3 separate regions of the Homo sapiens genome follow, and regions 2 and 3 are each linked to region 1. The links are contacts of gene promoters, found by promoter capture Hi-C in human tissues and cell types (Jung and others, 2019). All regions are on one chromosome and are shown on one strand. Each heading gives the region's core, a stretch centred on a gene start or on the middle of the fragment in contact. The rest is flanking DNA. Distances are from core to core; before and after follow the strand shown. Region 1 holds the start of PJA2 (praja ring finger ubiquitin ligase 2). Region 2 has its middle 100 kb from the start of LINC01023. Region 3 overlaps FER (FER tyrosine kinase).

What was found. Contacts are between HindIII fragments. The study calls those that stand out against the background at their distance.
Region 2: a fragment that was not itself captured here is called in contact with the fragment with the promoter of PJA2 in region 1 in 2 of the 25 tissues and cell types used here (dorsolateral prefrontal cortex and lymphoblastoid cells).
Region 3: a fragment that was not itself captured here is called in contact with the fragment with the promoter of PJA2 in region 1 in 2 of the 25 tissues and cell types used here (hippocampus and spleen).

The regions. Positions count from the first base shown.
Region 1 is chr5:109,408,598-109,411,531 of GRCh38, reverse strand. It overlaps PJA2 (praja ring finger ubiquitin ligase 2), which reads left to right and starts at 1,558. Exons shown (of 10, transcript NM_014819.5): 1 at 1,558-1,690. RefSeq lists enhancers at 924-1,103, 2,214-2,333, 2,374-2,473 and a silencer at 1,614-1,693. The HindIII fragment of the contact is 22,167 bases long and covers 1-2,934 here.
Region 2 is chr5:108,623,875-108,626,808 of GRCh38, reverse strand. No RefSeq gene overlaps it. Among named protein-coding and RNA genes, the nearest start is that of LINC01023, 100 kb to the left of the region's middle. The HindIII fragment of the contact is 5,216 bases long and covers 1-2,934 here.
Region 3 is chr5:108,762,838-108,765,771 of GRCh38, reverse strand. All of the region lies in intron 1 of FER (FER tyrosine kinase), which reads right to left. Among named protein-coding and RNA genes, the nearest start is that of FER, 16 kb to the right of the region's middle. The HindIII fragment of the contact is 7,509 bases long and covers 1-2,934 here.

The DNA.
Region 1 (2,934 bases), core at 309-2,808:
AAATATACATTTATTTAAAGAAAAAAGGACAGTGAGTAGTATACACAGATACAGTATGAAAAAGGTTGAAATTTGGGAATCCCTGCCTTCTAGAACAGGTTAATGTATCCAGTTGGGCCAATCTGGAACACCCTAAAGGGAAACTAGGGAAATGTAATTAAAATATGAATTTTGTTTTTTTTCAAAGAGGTACTTGGATGGTTAAAGTCAGAACTCCTATAGCAACACGTGTGAAGGCAGAGTAATATCAAGCAAGGAATGGTTTTTTGGTAAGAAACGTACTACAGGAGTGGGCTGGGATTCAGATTGGATTTCACAAAATGTCTGGCAAATTCTCATAAACCTAAATTTCTACAGTAAATTTTGGGTAATTTATTTCCATCAACAGCAAAAAAAAATTAGTCTCAGTTCACTGGCAAGAGAGTTCGCTGTTGTTAAGGGGACAGCACAAGAAGTGGGGCTCTTAATTCGCGGGGGAGGGGTGGCGATGAATATATCCTGGGCATCAGGCGACGGGTCGGGGGTGGGGAATAAGAGAAGACAGAGGGACTGTAATCAGATAAGCGGACACGTTTCAAGATGAATAAAGGGAATATGTGCGGAACGAAGAAACAGTTTTGTATCACTGACATAATTAACTAAACTGTTACCCAGGTTTAAATTAAGCAAGGTGTCCGGGGACTGCAGCTGTTGTATTTATTTTGGTTGCATGTGATGGGAGCTGTTACTTCCCGGCTTGACAAACAGCCTCAAGATGCAAGCTGGGAGGCTGTGGTCAGCCCAAGGCTATACAGAGGAAAGGCAGGCCTCCTCTGAACCCCGCCCCAGCAGAATAAGAAGCGAGGGGCAAGGGTCAGCGCGGAGAGGGAGGGTGGAAAGCGCCATATAGTGCCCAGGGTCAGGGTGGGTAAACAAGCCTTTCTTCGTGTCATTTTTTTTTTTTGTCTCACCGATATCTGCATTGTAACTGAACTTTATGCCAGGAGACCTTAACCTTGTTAATCAGGTTTCCAGTCGAATCAGGATCGATTTTAATGCCTCCATTTTGGTTGTTGCTGTTGGAATTTCCGAAAAAGCCTAACTGCGCCAGTCTTTCTGTTAGTTCTCCACACCCCCTTCCCTTTCCGAGACCCCGCCCTTTTCTCTCAGCCCAAACCACAAAAGGCCGCGCAGTTTTAGCTCCTACACGGTGCTCCGCCCCCTCCCCAAACGTCGCAGTACTGCAGGGAAAGGAGGTGGGCTCGGCTGGGGCGGGGGACTGAGTCGGCTTCGTCTTTCCGCTCTTCAGCCAATTGGTGAACTCCCCCTGAGGGAGATGGGGGAGCAGGCTGTAGAGAAGGTCCAAGTATTTTTCCCTTTTTCTGCCACGTCCCAACCATTGACGTGAGCCCACTCCTCAGGTTCTGATTGGGCGTATGCATTGTCCCCCAGCAGAGACCCTGTAAGCTGACTGGTCATCTCTGCTATGGGGGAGGGGCTTGCGTACTCTCCTCCTTCGCCTCCACCGCGGCGCAAGGGGCGGGACTCACCGCCACCGCCTCTGCTTCCGCCGCCGCCACCGCCGCCGCCGCCGCCACAGCCGCCAGCCGCTTCGCGTTCGGCGGGGGAGGAGTTGGAGGCGGAGAAGAAGGCGGTGGTGGCGGGTGGAGGTTCGAGCGCTGTTCTCGCTCCGGAGCCGCTGCACATTTCGGTGAGGGTTTTTTTTTTTTTTTTTCAGTCTGGCTTGTTCCGCTGTCGGGAGTGTGGGGGTCGGGGCGAGGAAATTGCTGCGTTCAGCTCCTCAGTTTCTCTGTCTCTAGCTTCGGAAGGAGCGGGGCTTGTCCCTGGCCTGCTGCGCCGGCCATGGTGGGTGGGGTTGATGGCTGTGGGAGGCCTTCTTCGCCTCCTGGGCCCTGTCCAGCCCGGACCCGGGCCGCGCTCCTATCCGGGACGGTCGCGCCCGCCGCCCCCCGACAGATGACATTGGTTGGTATCGGGGTCTTCGCTGCCGCTCTTTACTGCTGCCTCTTCTGCTGTCCTTGGTGACTTGGCCAAGGAGCCCGCTGGCTTTCCCCTACACTCGCCACTGTACAAGAGTTTGCCCCCCAACCAACACCTCACACCCACCTTCTGCGGTTTCCCGTCACCCCGCGTAGAGCGGAACCATCTTACGCCACAGGCCTGCAGCACCCCTCCCCCGAGGAGCCTTCTGTTGCCGTCGTTTTGCTGGGCGTCTGCATTTTCCCCGATTGTCAGTGAGGCTCGGCACGCAGACACCCCGCTCGAGCCGCAGCAGTCGCTCTACTCCCGGGATCAGCACCTTTCCGCCAGGGCTGCTCTCAGTTAGCGATGTCAGGCCAGAGCTCCTCTTGCAGATGCACCTTTAATTTGGCCTCCCTCAGATGACTGGTAATCATTTTGCGCACATTCAAAATGGTGAGGTTAAAGACGCTCAGACCAAGTTGAAGCAAAGGGGAGGTGGTAAATAGTCGTTTTGCAGGGAGGAGAGTAATCTGAGAGTTCCTTCTCCGGACATTAAAAAAAAAAAAATTTACATCCGCATAGGCGCTTCTTTTGAGTCTGCTGGTTCTGTGAAGTTTAAAATTTTCATTGCAGGCTTAATGTATTCTGTTTTATCATGAAATATTTGGTCACATTTCTTTAAAATGGCAGTCACCTTTGCTGAAGGCTACGGATCATTTGAAGTGTATGTGAATAAACCTGAGGATAACAGTAATAAACGTTTAAACTGTATTTTTCAGTGTTGTAATTGTCTTTTGGGGTTCATGTCATTTTTATATGAGATGACCACTTAATTTTAAAAATTCATTGCAGACATGCAAGTTTGATGTACACTTCAACAATATAAATAACGGACTGTTAGGTAAAATTTAAATATTTCTTTTCATCCCCCAGTCCCACTCCAGTGTAAAGTTGACAGTTTAGTGTTCATTT
Region 2 (2,934 bases), core at 308-2,807, 780 kb after region 1:
ACTTCTTCAGAGAATCAGAGAGGTGTCAAGACTCAGGGGTCTTCAACCAGGTTGGTTTCAGCAAACCTCTCAATCAACTCTAAATTGCATTTGGGGTAGAAAACCAGGGGGTGGTATTTTTTTCTCCCTACACCTCTGGGGCTTGCTTTGATTGAATATCTTGACTCACGAAGGCAGGTCAGACTCCAAGCTTCTTTAGGGTTAAAATGTGCCTGTGAACAGGTTGCCAGCATTCTGAGCCTGATTTTTCTTCTTCTTTTGAATTCAGAACACCTCCTGAGGTTTCTTCACTACATCCTCACACAGTCCCCTTAGCGGACTCATGGTTGGTCTGGTTAAAAGCTAGTCTGAACACTATCTTCGCTACCTGCTGTGGGCTGACAGACTCTAACTTTGTTGTGTTTCCAGATCTTTGTCTCTTACTGTTTGGAAATGGGAATATACAGCTGCAATGTGGCAATCAAAGTGGGGGAGGTGATCATTTACATTCTAACACACAGAGACTTCCTAGTCAAGGTTACTTATAAATCAAATGGATGTCATTTCATAAACACCCCCAAACAACTGTATTTCATTATGAAAATGTGAAGCAGTGCTGTTAATTGATATCTAAGGACTAAAATCAATTTAACTTACAGACACTCAGCTGCTACAACAGTTGTGAACATGTCTGAATGTTAATAAACACTGATTAGTATTAATACCATACAAGATTTTAAATGTGGCTGGCATGAAATTCTCAATCTAATGGACAGGGAAGCCTGTTGACAAAGATTTATTCTCTATATTCTCTTGTAGACAGAAATTTTCTTAGGCTTGACAGCATCACCATCAGTTTCACAAGCGTACTATGGCACTTGGTTTTTTAGAGACTATAACAATCTCATGAAAAGAAAGAGGGTTGAACACTCATTTGTCACTCAGACACAACACTGAAATGACACAGAGCAAACTGAGGAGCAGCAAGTGAAATGTGAAAATGAAGAGGAAAGAGAAAGTGAAGATGCACAGGCCATAATAATACAGAACAGCGGTACAGATGAGGGACTGTTCCCCAGAGAAGTTGACAGTAGCCATGACCTCCAAAACAAGTGATAATGCAGAGACACAGCTTACTTTTGTTACCTTTCAACACAATGTAAAGGAGCAAAATGAAAGGAAGAAAAATATATTGATTGGAATTGCAGAGATCGTCTGATTTTAGCAAGTTTCATGTGAACTCTGATTCTCTTTTCTCGCTCACCATTATTTGCCTTGACTATTCTGTATAGAAAATGTCTCCACTCAGAGTGGAGAGGTAAGGTCAGGATTAATATGATTCAGTGGGTTTTACTTGAATAATATCTCTGTTCTAGGATAGTTATATTTTAACTGAACACAGTTAAACACAAAAATATTTCAAAACCACTTCAACTTCCACCAGTCTCCACTGTAGGAAAAAGTATACAAAGAGGCTCAACAAATGTTTCACCTAAAAAAACAGGTGAAAAGAGAACACTACCTTTAAAAATGCAATCAAATTTAAATGACAGTCCATGCAAAATTTTTGTTTTGGAAATTGGCAATCAAATTCTAAAACTTAGATGGAAAGGCAAAGAGCCAAGCATAGCTAAGGCAATCTTAAAGAAAAACAAAGCTGCTGGACTTGTATTATCAGATACCAAGAGCTGTAATAATTAAGACAGTATGGTAGTGGCATAAGAATTGACAAATAGAGCAATGGAAGAGAAAAGAAAGTCCAGAAATAGGCCTAAACATATATGGTTACCTGATTTATGACAAAGATGACATTGCAGTGCAGTGGGGAAAGAATAATCTTCTTAATAATTGGTGTTGGATCAAGTAGATACCCAGATGGGAAAAATAAATTTGTGCCCCACCTCTCACCATACAAAAAAATAAATTCTAAATGGGTTGCAGATCCAAATGTGAAAGGTAAAACAAAGTTTCTAGAAGAAAATGTAGGAGAATTTCTTCATGACTGTGACATGGGCAAAATTTCTTAACCATATAAAGAAAAAGATTGATAAATTGAACTTCAAGCACTGTGTATTAAAGGACACCATTAAATGGGTAAAACTACCACCCATCATATAGGGAAGATATTTGTAATACAGATAACCAACCAAGGACTTAAAGCCAGATTATGTAAAGAATAATGCAAATTGGGAAAAACTCTAATATTTTATGGTGTTTTCTCTGCTCTCACACCACAAAAATCATCAACATAGAAGACTTCTGGGACCAAATGTGTGTGTGAGAAGGCTCTCCCCACCACCAAGTGGGCAATCAGTTCCCCAGTGGACAGCACTGGGTGTCCCCCCATTCAGTTCCGACACTATCTACCTGGAGATAACATCAGATCTCACAGGTTGAAGGCTCGGTCCCCAAGAATATCCACTTTCAGATACCAGTCTCAAGTCCTGGCCTCTGGAACTTCTGACCAACAAGCTTCAAGTTAAGCTTCCCACGACCCTCTCTTTGGGTTTGATTAATTTGCTGGAGTGGCTCACAGAACTCAAGGAAACACTTACATTTACTGGTTTATTATAAAGGATATTACAAAGGCTACAGATGAAGAGATACATAAGGAGAGGAGGGGAAGGTGTGTGGAGCTTCCATGCCCTCCCTGGGAGCACCACCCTCTAGGAACCTCCATGTATTCAGCTATCTGGAAGCTCACCAAACCCTGTCCTTTTGGGTTTTTATGGAGGCTTCATTACATAGGCATGATTGACAACTTCATAGACATGTGACTGGACAAGAGTATGATCTCATACTAGAAGACTGAGTGGGGAAACTCAGCAAGACCTGTCTGTTCAGATTCTTCTTGTCCATTCTGTGCAGCATTCCTTCCTCCAGAGTATGGGGTGGGACCCTCTCTGGAATAAGGGTCTTTTGACCCACAATTAGATTAGAGTCCTGTTTTGAGCA
Region 3 (2,934 bases), core at 235-2,734, 650 kb after region 1:
GATCATCCAATTAATATGAAAAATGTTTAAACTCTCTTCTCTATCAGCAAAGATAGTTGCATTATTTAGAATTCCCTGTTCTAGTCTCTCACTTTGCTATGGAAATGGTTATTTCCACAGACCTAAGTTCAAGAAAGACAACTATTCAACTGAGATTCCATGCCCAATATTGAGCAGTGTCAAGTATCTTGCTCAGGAAAGCTAGCCCACTGTAGTCCTAGCTACTCAAGAGGCTGAGGCAGAAGGATCACTTGAGCCTAGGAGGTCAAGCCTGCAATGAGCTGTGATCACATCACTGTACTCAAGCATGGGTAAGAGAGCAATACCCTGTCAAAAAAAAAGAAAAGAGAAAAGAAAGTAAGCTAGTCACAGGACCCATGTATTGTGTCTCAATCTCTAACTCAGTCTTTTCTATAATTTTTATTTTCCAATGAAACAAAAAGCATTTTTCTTTGATATTGAAAAGATTTGGGTTAAAAGTAACAACTTTTTTTGGTGGCATCTCTAAATGGAACTTTTTAAAATTCAAACTACTATAAACCTATGAATCAAAAAAATTATATTCCTTGCGTTACTTCAAAGGTATTATCATGCTTACCAGACTCAGCAAACGTTTCCATACATAACAGTTGAAAATGCATAATGACTGCTTTCTAATGCACCTTAATCTTCCCCAAGAACTTCCTCAATTACACATACTTTCATCTCTAACGCACATTCATAGCCAAAAAATAGTTCCTATTCCCTGAAATATGCTTGTCTTCACAAATGGGACTAGGGTGATGCAAAAGAAATACCTGGGGCGCAAAATTTAAGGAGATACTCTCAGGATCATGCAAGTGCCACCCTGCAGCTGCATGACCCTAAAAGTGATTATGTCTCATATTTTGTGTCCTAGGCAACTCTCTTGCCTTACCCTAGTCCTGGCTCTACTTCTCTTTCCCATCTCTACTCTCCCCACTTCTCTAATAAATATCCCCTTAGTTTTTCAAAATCCAATTCTGATAAACTAAATATTTATTTTAAACAAAGAATTTAAGTATAATTTTACAACCATTTAAAATTATGTTTCCACGGCCAGGTGCAGTGGCTCATGCCTGTAATCCCAGCACTTTGGGAGGTCAAGGTGGGTGGATCACCTGAGGTCAGGAGTTCAAGATCAGCCTGACCAACATGGAGAAACCCCATCTCTACTAAAAATACAAAATCAGCCGGGCATGGTGGCGCATGCCTGTAATCCCAGCTACTTGGGAGGCTGAGGCAGGAGAATCGCTTGAACACGGGAGGTAGAGGTTGCAGTGAGCCAAGATGGCGTCACTGCACTGCAGTCTGGGCAACAAGAGTGAAACTTCGTCTCAAAAATAAATAAATAAATAATAAAATTAAATTTAAAAAATAAAATAAAATTGTTTTCAAAGAAAATTTCTTGTTCATGATATGTGGTAGGTAAAAAATAAATGAAGTAGTTATATCTATATACAGTAAGATTATATTTTTTTAAATGATTGTGAGTTGCATGTGCATGTAAGTAATAGACCTGTGTTGTTTTTTACTCTGAAGCATCTATCTCCCCTTCTGTTGGTAGCAGCATCTTAATTTTCTTTTCCCAAACTATCCTTCTCTTATCATCAATCCACACGGTTTGGGTGGCATTGATCACCAGCACTCTAATGTTTCTGGGGTAGGAACATAACCTGGGTCTGGGAAATCAGCATATTCCTTCTCGCAAGCAGTAGTTTAGGAATAGGTATGTTACCCAAATTGAACAGATAATACTGAATCCCAACATTTTTGCAGAAGCTAATCAGGAAGGAAAGTCATCTTTCAGCCAAGGTTGCTAAACTGAAAGATGATGATAAGTACCTACTAGACAATCAAGCAACCCAAACAAAGAACCAAGAGAAGAGAAACGGAGAAATGTCTGAAAATATTTTGCCCCTATATATGAGTTCAGATGTAAATAGATATAGCTGCTGGAATTCAGAATTACTGCTGGGAAACAATTCACTCTGCATTTCTCATGTTCCTGCACAGAATCTTCTGACCAAAATGTACTACAAATGGATATTTGCATAACAGACAGCCTTGGAAGCTAGAGACAGTATCTCCCTAAAGATAGAAAACTCCAAAGAGCTTTGGAGAAATTAAGCCTTCTCCTTCCCCTCCCTGGAAACATTTACTTATATTCTAGGGTAAGAAACCTAAAGATACCTTCTCCCTCTCCTCTGGAAGCGATGTGTTTAATAAGTAATCTCTCTCTCGCTCTGCAGGGGAGGATGGCAGATGTGCCAACACCCTATACAAGCTTGGAGTCTCCTCATTTCAAGGCTCCTCTCCTATGATGCAAATCTGCTGCATGTGTAGGTAAACACCTGGCCCTCATCACATTGTTTTGTCACAGAGATGGGGCAGGGAGAACTAGCACTAAGATATTTCTCTGGCCACTGCTTTTACTGCAATAAACCCTCTGAGTCTCTGACCCAGGGCTCTTCTATTAATGTATGTATATAAAAGTATGGCAAGGTAACTTGCTTGTTTGCAAACAGGGTATTCTAAGTCCCTTCAGAGTTTCAGAGTTAATGGTTACGTGAGGCAACGACACATTTTTTTTTTCTTATTTATTAATTCGTTCAACAAATATTTGCTGAAAGCCTACTATGCTATCTGTGTGCCATGAGTTTTCCTATACAACAGGTAAAAATTCTTGCCTTCCTGGAGATTATATTCTAGAAAGAGGAAACAAACAAAATACAAAATAAGTAAGTAAAATACACAGTGTTAGGTAGTAATAAGCACTATTTTTAAAAGCAGAAAAAGGTAAGTATGAAGTAGGTAGGAGATTTCAAATTTATGTTGAGTGATTAAAGACTTTACAGATAAAGTGACATTTACCAAAGACCTGAAGGAGATAAGGAAGTTAGTCACATGGTTAGC